Regions from separate parts of the Homo sapiens genome. Here region 1 is linked to region 2. Evidence: promoter capture Hi-C in 16 types of primary human blood cells and fetal thymus (Javierre and others, 2016). All regions are on one chromosome and are shown on one strand. Each heading gives the region's core, a stretch centred on a gene start or on the middle of the fragment in contact. The rest is flanking DNA. Distances are from core to core; before and after follow the strand shown. Region 1 overlaps OLFM2 (olfactomedin 2). Region 2 holds the start of CDKN2D (cyclin dependent kinase inhibitor 2D).

Region 1 (5,074 bases), core at 2,228-4,727, 640 kb after region 2:
CCAGCTGCAGGGCGGCGAGGGGCGGGGGTCGCAGCGGGGGAGGGGCCGGGACGTGCACTCTCTGGCTTGGGAGAGGACGAGGGGGGCTTCAAATCCAGCCTCAAGCTGGGCTGGTTTGGGGGGTGGCGTCTTTGGGGTTCTCAACCCCTCCATGGCCCCGAGCCCCCACCCCGCCATCTCGCTGGAGCTGAATGGGGTTGGGAGGGAAACTTCAGGGGGCATTGGAGGGGGGCGGTTGCTTACCCTTGACTTCCTCTTCGGGGCCGAGATGCCCAGTTTCTGAAGCCCTCCACTCCTCGCCTGCAGCCCCCAGTGTGGGGCAGGGGACGGGACTCACGTGAGAGTGACTGACGGGGACGCGTGTGAAATGCTGTGGGGGTGCAGGGTAAACGTGTGTGTCTTTGTGTCGTGGTTGGGTGTGACCGGGGGGAGTTTGTGTGTGTGGCGGTTGGGGGGCTTGTCCAACTAGTGCCCGAGTTGGGGTGTGATCAGTACGTGAGACAGAGTCTGTGTGTGACCGTGTCCTCATTACTGGCTCCAGATGACTGGGTGTTGTACAATACGTGTGTGGCCAGGTGTGTGGCCGTGTGAGAGCCTTGGAGTGAGCGTGTGCTATTCTGTACCTTTGGGTAAATCACTCTAAAAGGGTGTGTGTGTGTGCAAGCGCTGTGTGTGCAAACGTGTCCATCCATGCACGTGTGTGTGTGTATCTTGGTGCCTTGCTCACAACCGCACACGCCATTCATACCCTTACAGAAGCGGGTCTCCCTCCCCATGGCACCTTTCTCTTGGGCAGGCTCAGGGAGGCTTGCAAAATGTGGGGCGTCCACGCTCTCTTTTGCTATTGGAAAGCCCCTCTCCTCCTCCATCTTGGGAGTGAGAGCACCCCCAAGTTCTCAGATCTGTAGGAGTTCACAGGGAAGCTGGGATCAAAAATAATAAAATAGTCATTATGATAACAGTGATCATTCATTACGTGCTAATTTGAGAGGTGCTGTTTCAATCACACAGCACAGACTAAGGCATTTAACCCCCTCTGCCTCCTCCCTACTAGAGCATGGTATTGTTACCTCATTTTATGGATGGGGAAACTGAGGCGCAGAAAAGTTAAATCACTTGCTCAAGCTCGAGAGTGACAGAGGTGGGACTGAACCGAGGCAGTCCGGCTCCTGAGCCCACACGATTACCCTCTTGTTAAATAATCCGCTCCATGGGTGTGGACAGCGTCCGTGAAGACATTGCTAGGTGGGCTTTTAGGTAGATAGGCAGGGGAGAAACAATTTGGGCACCTTCCCCTTATCAAGAAAAGAATCAGACCCTTGTGCTCACCCCGAGGGGGGTGTTGGGAGGAATGGAGGTTAGACTCCAGATAGAAGGATTTCCAGGCCACGAGGAGAGATTGTGGGGTCCCCTCCCTCGCTCCTCCATTTCCCCACGCATCTCAGCACCCACGCGCTGGGTGGGATAGGGAGTGTGCCCAGCCCCAGGCATGAGGACACACACAATAGGTACTCAATGGATGTGTGAGCCTGAGAGAAGCCAAGAGACACACCTGGGAGACGAGAGACCAAAAGAGGCACACACTTGAGAAACCAGTGGAAAAAAAATGAGCCAGGAATCAAGTTGAATTATCCTTGACCTAGCAGAGGAGACAGAGAACCACCCCCTGTGGCTTCTCCTCCACTCCCTGCTAGGGGGGCACTAGATTTTCTGGCTTCTCACCAAGATTGGCTAGGATGCCAGAGTTTGCTGCCAGAATTGCAATTGGAGGGTGACTCCTACAGCCCCCAGGGCTGGGAGGGAGTTGCTTTGGGGGCGGGACTAACGAGGTCAGTGGAGGCGGGGCTAAAGGACAACGGGGGCGTGGCCAAATGAGGTAATCCGTTAGGGCGGGGCTGGTGGAATCCTGCCGCGGGCTGCAGTGCCTCCAGGCGGCCACCGCGGGAACTACATGGTTGTGAAACAGTCTCGGCGCCCCATACACCCCCTTGGCGTTGGCCCACCAAGCCTGGCACCCCAGGGAAGGGAGGGGTCTGCAGAGAGGATGCTCTACCCACTCTTCGCTCCCTCCATCACTTTCCAAAGACTTCTTCCCTGTCCCTGATGGGCCCAGGGGTCCTTCCTAGAAATCATTGGTTAATCCATTCAATGAACAGATATGATTATGCACTGGGGATACAGCCACCAACTGAGTCATCAAATCCCTGCTCTCCTGGAGTTGACCTAGCAGAGGAGACAGAAAAGAGCCGAATAACCATGTAATACGGTGTCGGCAACTAAATATACATATAATACAATGCAAGTAGCATGAAGAATAACAGATAAAGTATAGAAGATTAGACTGGAGCCGGGTGCTGTGGCTCACGCCTGTAATCCCAGCATTTTGGGAAGTTGAGGCAAGTGGATCGCCTGAGGTCAGGAGTTCGAGACCAGCCTGGCCAACATAGTGAAACCCTGTCTCTACTAAAAATACAAAAAATTAGCTGGGTGTGGTGGCAGGCGCCTGTAATCCCAGCTACTAGGGAGGCTGAGGCAGGAGAATTGCTTGAACCTGGGAGGCAGAGGTTGCGGTGAGCTGCGATCGCCATTGCACTCCAGCCTGGACAACAAGAGTGAAACTCTGTCTCAAAAAAAAAAAAAAAAAAAAAAGATTAGAGTGATAGCAGTCGGGCATGGAGGCTCACGCCTGTAATCCCAGCACTTTGGGAGGCCAGGGTGAGTGGATCACTTGAGGTCAGGAGTTTGAGACCAGCCCGGCCAACATGGTGAAACCCCGTCTCTACTAAAAATGCAAAAAATTAGCCAGGTGTGGTGTTGCACACCTGTAGTCCCAGCTATTCAGGAGGCTGAGGCAGGCGAATTGCTTGAACCTGGGAGGCAGAGGTTCCAGTGAGCCAAGGTCATGCCACTGCACTCCAGCCTAGGCAACAGAACAAGACTGTCTCAAAGCAAAAAAACAGAAAAAGATTACAAGGTGGGGGCTATTTGAGCCAGTGTGGTCAGGGAAGGTGTCTCTAAGGAAGTAGTGTTTCAGGTGACATCTGAAGGAGGTGAGAGAGGGAGCCTTGTGGGTGTCTGGGGGAAGAGCATTGAAGGTGGGAGGAACAGAAGGTGCAAAGGCCCTGGGGTAAGAACAAGCTTGGTGAGTTTCAGAAGCAGTGTGGACGCTGGTGTGGCTGGAGAGGTCGCGGGGAGATGAGGCCGGGGAAGCCAGACCACTTAGGAACTTGTAAGCTGTGGGCAGAAGTTTGGATTTGACCCAGAGAGCAGGAGAACAGGAAAGCAGGGCCTGTCAGAGGCATTGTCCATTCATCCAGGATCTATCCAAGATGTTCTGGGTTCTGGCCTGGGAGTGACTACCAGAGAGCTTGACAGTTCTGAGCCCCACTATTTTCCTTGTGGAAAAGATGCCTTCCTGATCCCTGCGAAGGCCTCCCTAAGATCTAGCTACATCGTTGGCACTATCTGGGTTTGGGACCAACTCTTTCCTGGGGCTTTCAGAGGATGGGGAGAAGGAATAATTCAGTTTAGATCACGTGCCTCAGGGACTTCACACTTGCTGTTCCCTCTGCCTGTGACACTGTTCCCCCTGGTAGCTATTTATCTCTGATTTCTGCTTAAATGTCACCTCCTCCAAGAGGCTCACCCTGAACAGCTAAGTGAAATAGCCCCCTGCTGCCACTCTCTGAGTGCTTACTCCGTGTTCTTTTTCTTTCTCTCTCTTTCTTTCTTTTTTTTTTTTTTTTTGAGACTGAGTCTCACTCTGTTGCCTGGGCTGGAGTGCAGTGGCGCAATCTCGGCTCACTGCAAGCTTTGCCTCACCGGTTCAAGTGATTCTCGTGCCTCAGCCTCCCGAGTAGCTGGGACTACAGGCACGTGCCACCTGATGCCCAGCTAGTTTTTGTTGTATTTTTAGTAGAGACAGGGTTTCACCATGTTGGCCAGGCTGGTCTTGAACTCCTGACCTCAGGTGATCTGCCGCCCAAAGTGCTGGGATTATAGGCATGAGCCACCACGCCCGGCCATATTTTTCTTTATAGCCCTCGTTTCCACATTTCTATGATTCTTCTATTCATTCATTCTCTGTTTCCCCACTAGAGCGGCAGTTTATCAGGGTTCAGCTAGCTTTGTTGTTTCTCCAGTGTCTAGAGCAGAGCCTGACACACAGTAGGTGCTCAAGAAATATCTGCTGAATGGATGAATGGATGGATGGATGGACCCCCTCACACACACAGAGTGTCTTTCTTTCTCAAACCACAGGATTCTTTTATCAAGAGAGTGTCAGGGGAACACTCGCTCCTGGATGGAAGGCACCAAGAAAATCCATTCTTCAGGCCAGGTGTGATGGCTGATACCTATGATCCCAGCATTTTGGGAGACCAAAGCCAGAGGGTCTCTTGAGGCCAGGAATTTGAGACCAGCCTGGGCAATACAGCAAGATCCCATCTCTACAATAACTTTTTCTTTTTATTTCTTTTTTTTTTTTTATTTTTGAGATGGAGTCTTGTTCTGTCACCCATGCTGGAGTACAGTACAGTATTGTGATGATCTCAGCTCACTGCAACCTCTGCCTCCCGGGCTCAAGAGATTCTAGTGCCTCAGCCTCCCGAGTAGCTGGGACTACAGGGGCGTGCCACCACACCCAGCTAATTTTTGTATTTTTAGTAGAGATGGGGTTTCACCATTTTGGCCAGGCTGGTCTCGAACTCCTGACATCTTGATTTGTCTGCCTCGGCCTCCTAAACTGCTGGGATTACAGGCGTGAGCCACCGTGCCCGGCCTCTGCAGTAACTTTAAAAAAAATTGGCCAGGCTTGTAGTTCTACTCAGGAGGCTGAGGTGTGAAGATCACTTGAGCCCAGGAGTTTGAGGCTGCAGTGAGCTATCATTGCACTACTGCACTCCAGCTTGGGCGACAGACTGAGACCCTGTCTCCACAAAAAAGAAAGAAAGAAAACCCATCTTCTTTACCTGTGCCTGACATTCCACCGATAGGGCACTGTTGTTTAGGGGTAAGACGATGTTCTCCTGGGGCTCCTTTAGAGCATGTAAATGTCCCAGTGGAGGGAAGTAAA
Region 2 (5,387 bases), core at 1,881-4,380:
GTAGAGACCGGTTTCACCATGTTGGCCAGGCTGGTCTCGAACTCCTGACCTCATGATCTGCCCGCCTCGGCTTCCCAAAGTGCTGGGATTACAGGCATGAGCCACTGCGCCTGGCTTAATTTTTGTTTTTGTTTTTGTTTTTTTGAGACGGAGTCTCGCTCTGTCGCCCAGGCTGGAGTGCAGTGGCGCGATTTCGGCTCACTGCAACCTCCACCTCCCAGGTTCAAGCGATTCTCCTGCCTCAGCCTGCTGAGTAGCTGGGATTACAGGCGTGCGCCACCATGCCCCACTAATTATTGTTATTTTTAGTAGAGACGGGGTTTCACCATGTTGGTCAGGCTGGTCTCAAACTCCTGACCTCATTATCCGCCCGCCTTGGCCTCCCAAAGTGCTAGGATTACCGGCGTGAGCCACCGCGCCTGGCTTAATTTTTTTTTTTTTTTGAGACAAGAGTCTTGCTCTGTCGCCCAGGCTGGAGTGCAGTGGCGTGATCTCGGCTCACTGCAAGCTCCGCCTCCCGGGTTCATACCATTCTCCTGCCTCAGCCTCCCAAGTAGCTGGGACTACAGGCGCCCGCCACCACGCCTGGCTAATTTTTTGTATTTTTAGTAGAGACGGTGTTTCACCGTATTAGCCAGGATGGTCTCAATCTCCTGACCTCGTGATCCGCCCGCCACGGCCTCCCAAAATGCTGGGATTACAGGCGTGAGCCACTGCGCCCGGCCTGTATTTTTTAATAGAGATGGGATTTCACCATGTTGGCTAGTCTGGTCTCGAACTCCCCACCTCAGGTGATCCACCCGCCTCAGCTTCCCAAAATGTTGGAATTACAGGTGTGAGCCACTTCGCTCGGCATTCCTATCTTATTAAAGCCATGGCCTGGTCGGGCGTGGGCGACAGAGCAAGACTCTGTCTCAAAAAAAAAAAAAAAAAAAAAAAAAGGCCGGGCACGGTGGCGGGCGCCTGTAGTCCCAGCTACTCGGGAGGCTGAGGCAGGAGAATGGCGTGAACCCGGGAGGCGGGGCTTGCAGTGAGCCGCGATAGCGCCACTGCACTCTGGCCTGGGCGAGTGAGACTCCGTCTCAAAAAAAAAATTAAAAAAAAATTAAAATAAATAAATAAATAAAAAAGCCATGGCTTGATTTGCACAATTGCCATCCTGATACCCCACCTACCTGCTCTCCCCTGCTCTGTACCACACCAGGCACGCTCTCACCTCTGGGCCTTAGCATCTGCTGTGCCTCCCAGCTGGTGTGCTTTTCCCCATATAACCACAAGTCTCCCTCCCTCACCTTTAGGTCTCAAATCAAATGTCACCTCTTCAGGGAGGCCCTCCCTGCCTTTGCGTTTCTTTTTCTTTTCTTTTCTTTTCTTTTTTTTTTTTTTTTGAGACAGAGTCTCACTCTGTTGCCCAGGCTGGAGTACAATGGCGCGATCTCGGCTCCTGCGACCTCCGCCTCCTGGGTTCAAGCGATTCTCCTGTCTCAGCCTCCTGAGTAGCTGGGATTACAGGTGCGTGCCACCAGGCGCAGCTAATTTTTTTTTTTTTTTTTTTTTTTTTGAGACGGAGTCTCGCTGTCGCCCAGGCTGGAGTGCAGTGGCGCAATCTCGGCTCACTGCAGGCTCCGCCCCCTGGGGTTCACGCCATTCTCCTGCCTCAGCCTCCCGAGTAGCTGGGACTACAGGCGCCCGCCACCTCGCCCGGCTAATTTTTTATATTTTTGGTAGAGACGGGGTTTCACCATGTTGGTCAGGCTGGTCTTGAACTCCTGACCTCGTGATCCGCCCACCTCAGCCTCCCAGAGTGCTGGGATTACAGGTGTGAGCCACCGCGCCCGGCTTTTTGCCTTTCCGTTTCAATGGCTCATCTGGTCAGTCCTCTACCACTCTAAAAAGATTTAACTATTGGCGGAGAGCAGGAGCTCACGCCTGTAATCCCAGCACTTTTGGAGGCCAAGGCAGAAGGATCCGTTGAGCCCAGGAATTCGGGACCAGCCTGGGCAACAAAGCAAGAACCCCAACATAAAAAAAAAAATCTGTATTTAAAAGCCAAACACAAATAACAAACAAAAAACACCAGCCTGGGCAACATAGTGAAACCTCATATCTACTAAAAACACAAATTAGCCGGGCGTGGTGGTGCGCCCTGTAGTCCCAGCTACTCGGGAGGCTGAGGCAGGAGGATCACTTGAGCCCGGGAAGTCGAGGCTGCAGTGAGCTGTGATCGCGCCACTGCACGCCGGCCCGGGTGACAGGAGTGAGACCCTGACTCAAAAATAAATACATATATAAATAAAAATTAACTATTGTCTCTGGCCCCAGACCATAGGTGTCCCTGCAGCAGGGGCCGACTGGCGTGCTCTCCACTCGGGCCCCTCTAGGAGGTGCTAAGTAAATATTTGAACGAAGACCTCTGAGTCCCTGTCTGGCTGCGACTATGTCCTCTCAGGCCTTCCCACGTGGCAGCTGCAGGCTCCTTTCCTGCTGGCTCAGTCTGAGCCCGGCAGGGTGATCCCTTCCTCATCCACTCCGTCTCTCCGTTTCCCTTTCTTCACGGTGCTTGACACTATCTAATATTATTTGGTTGTTTGAATGTGCGCGTCCAGCTCCCAGGACGCTCCCTGCACACAGTGAATGAATAAATGAATGAAATAAAGCGCCCAGCTCGTAGTAAGGGCCAATGAATGTCTATTAGTAGTGGAACCTCGGATTGGGTGGCTCCAGCCCTGCCTCCCTTCCCTCAGGAGGCGCCGAGGTCCCAGAGCAGCCCGCGCGACCCTGCCCCTGACCTTTCTCCCTGGGTCAGTTAAACCAGCCTTCTTTCCCGCCTGCCGGGTTCATTTGAAAACCGAAAACCCCGCCATTGCCGGCGGTCCACCGGTTGCCACACTCTGACCAATCAGGAGCGACGCGTTTCACGCCGAGCCCGAAGTTTCCCCGGCGACGCGCAGCCACTGGTTATGCAGGCCCTGTGGGCGGAACGCCGTAAGGTCGCGCGCCGGGCAACGCGGTGCCGCTACACAGTAGCGAGTTTGTAAGAAAACAAATCAGTTGCGTTCGGGGCGTGGCCGGGAGCACGTTGGCTCCGCCCCCTGGCGGCTGCCTCAGCGGCGGCGGCGGCGCAGGCTCAGAGCAGACCCCGCCCGGCGAGGAGGAGGGAGGGTGAGTTAGGGGGAGACCCGGCCCCCAAGGGGCGGGCGCCGGGCAGGGCCCCGCGGGCGGCCGAGGGTTGGGCCCGGCTCCCAGCCCCTCGCCGTCCTCCGGCTGACAGGGGGAGGAGCCCGCCGGGAGGGCCGGGGTCTCGGGCTGGGGAGCCGGGACGGGAGAGCAGCGCAGCCGGGTGCACCGCGGCCGCGCCCCGGGAGGGCTGTTCGGGCCAGCGCCCGCCGGCTGCTCCGCGCTGACAGCGCCGGGCTGGGGCGGGGCGGGGGGCTTTGCAGGCCGCCAGTGTCGACATGCTGCTGGAGGAGGTTCGCGCCGGCGACCGGCTGAGTGGGGCGGCGGCCCGGGGCGACGTGCAGGAGGTGCGCCGCCTTCTGCACCGGGAGCTGGTGCATCCCGACGCCCTCAACCGCTTCGGCAAGACGGCGCTGCAGGTGAGGCCGGGCCGGTCCAGGTTGGGGCGGGGCGGCTAAGCGGGATGAGGATCGAGACCCCAGAGCTCCTCTCTGGTCTCCTGGCCCTGGTGGTGACCCACTGGGAACCGGTCCTTCTTCTCTAGGCTTTCATTGTTCCCCCACAGTCCCCCTTCGAAGGTGGGTGGTGGGTGAGGCTAGGTTGTGGGGGGAGGGGAGAGCTTTTTAGCATCTTCTCTGGGAGGATTCCTGGTTCTCTGAGTGCCGGGGATTCACTTTCCCTGGGGAGGTTCTTATTCCGTGGGTGCGGGTTCAGCTCCTTTGGATGCCGTTTCCATGGGGACGGCTCACGTTTCTTGGGGCTTCTATGGGGAGATCCGATCTCTGGAAGGAGAGGTCCTGTCTCTAGGGGTTCCTCATTTTGTAGGGGGCTCTCTGAGACAAATCTGGTTACTTGGGGGTGGGGTCTTCATTCCTAAAGGTTATGCGGATCCTTGATATAGTATGGGGGCCCCAATGGAGGAACAATGTCAGATTGCAAGACATCCCTATATTCCCTGGGAGACATTTTACAGGGAAGTCTCGTTTCTCTTTTATTATTACTTTTGGAATCCCGCTTCTTGAAAGGAGCTCTCAGGTACTCTGAGGTGACATCACCATTATGTAGGAGGAGGCTATTTCCTGGAGAAGGGGTTCGCTTTCCTTTGACATCTTTTTTCCCTTATGAGGACTATCAATTCTTTGGGGGTAGTTCTCCATCTCTGGGGGCCCATTTCCTGGAGGGGATTTTCTGTTTCCTGGTGATTGCCCATATCTGGGGGCGTCTTTGGTCCCTTGGGGGAGAGTCTTAGGTTCCTTGAAAGTTTCCATGGGGGGCTGTTCTCTGGGTTGGGGGGTCTCATTCTTAAGGGAGTGACCAGCTTTTGGGGGGGGTCCCTATTCCCAGAAGAACTTTCCTGGGGGCTTATGCAGCTTCTCCGTTCACTAGAGGACCCCTCCTCTAGCATTTCCTGTTTCTGGGAGATGCCTCTTTCTGGATGACCCTTCTCTTTCCAGTGACCCCTTTTGTGGAACCTCCTCCCTTGAGGACCTCCTGATCCTCTGTCCCTCACACAGGTCATGATGTTTGGCAGCACCGCCATCGCCCTGGAGCTGCTGAAGCAAGGTGCCAGCCCCAATGTCCAGGACACCTCCGGTACCAGTCCAGTCCATGACGCAGCCCGCACTGGATTCCTGGACACCCTGAAGGTCCTAGTGGAGCACGGGGCTGATGTCAACGTGCCTGATGGCACCGGGGCACTTCCAATCCATCTGGCAGTTCAAGAGGGTCACACTGCTGTGGTCAGCTTTCTGGCAGCTGAATCTGATCTCCATCGCAGGGACGCCAGGGGTCTCACACCCTTGGAGCTGGCACTGCAGAGAGGGGCTCAGGACCTCGTGGACATCCTGCAGGGCCACATGGTGGCCCCGCTGTGATCTGGGGTCACCCTCTCCAGCAAGAGAACCCCGTGGGGTTATGTATCAGAAGAGAGGGGAAGAAACACTTTCTCTTCTTGTTTCTCCTGCCCACTGCTGCAGTAGGGGAGGAGCACAGTTTGTGGCTTATAGGTGTTGGTTTTGGGGGTGTGAGTGTTTGGGGGACGTTTCTCATTTGTTTTTCTCACTCCTTTTGGTGTGTTGGACAGAGAAGGGCTCCTGCAGGCCACAGCCACCTAAACGGTTCAGTTTCTTCTGCGCCTCAGGCTGCTGGGGCCTCAGACGAGACCCAAGGGCAGAGCATTTAAGAGTGAAGTCATGACCTCCAGGGAGCCT

What was found. Contacts are between HindIII fragments. The CHiCAGO score rates a contact against its expected background, and 5 or more counts as called.
Region 1: a fragment that was not itself captured here is called in contact with the fragment with the promoter of CDKN2D in region 2 in 1 of 17 cell types (activated CD4 T cells); the score reaches 5.8 in activated CD4 T cells.

Annotation. Positions count from the first base shown.
Region 1 is chr19:9,931,128-9,936,201 of GRCh38, reverse strand. The region is part of intron 1 of OLFM2 (olfactomedin 2); the gene reads left to right. Among named protein-coding and RNA genes, the nearest start is that of OLFM2, 2.8 kb to the left of the region's middle. RefSeq lists an enhancer at 1-431. The HindIII fragment of the contact is 673 bases long and covers 3,141-3,813 here.
Region 2 is chr19:10,566,722-10,572,108 of GRCh38, reverse strand. CDKN2D (cyclin dependent kinase inhibitor 2D) reads left to right here and starts at 3,130. Exons shown (of 2, transcript NM_001800.4): 1 at 3,130-3,596; 2 at 4,692-5,387. The coding sequence starts at 3,456. The coding sequence ends at 5,051. RefSeq lists a silencer at 2,864-3,513 and enhancers at 3,794-3,963, 4,403-4,910. The HindIII fragment of the contact is 9,110 bases long and covers 1-5,387 here.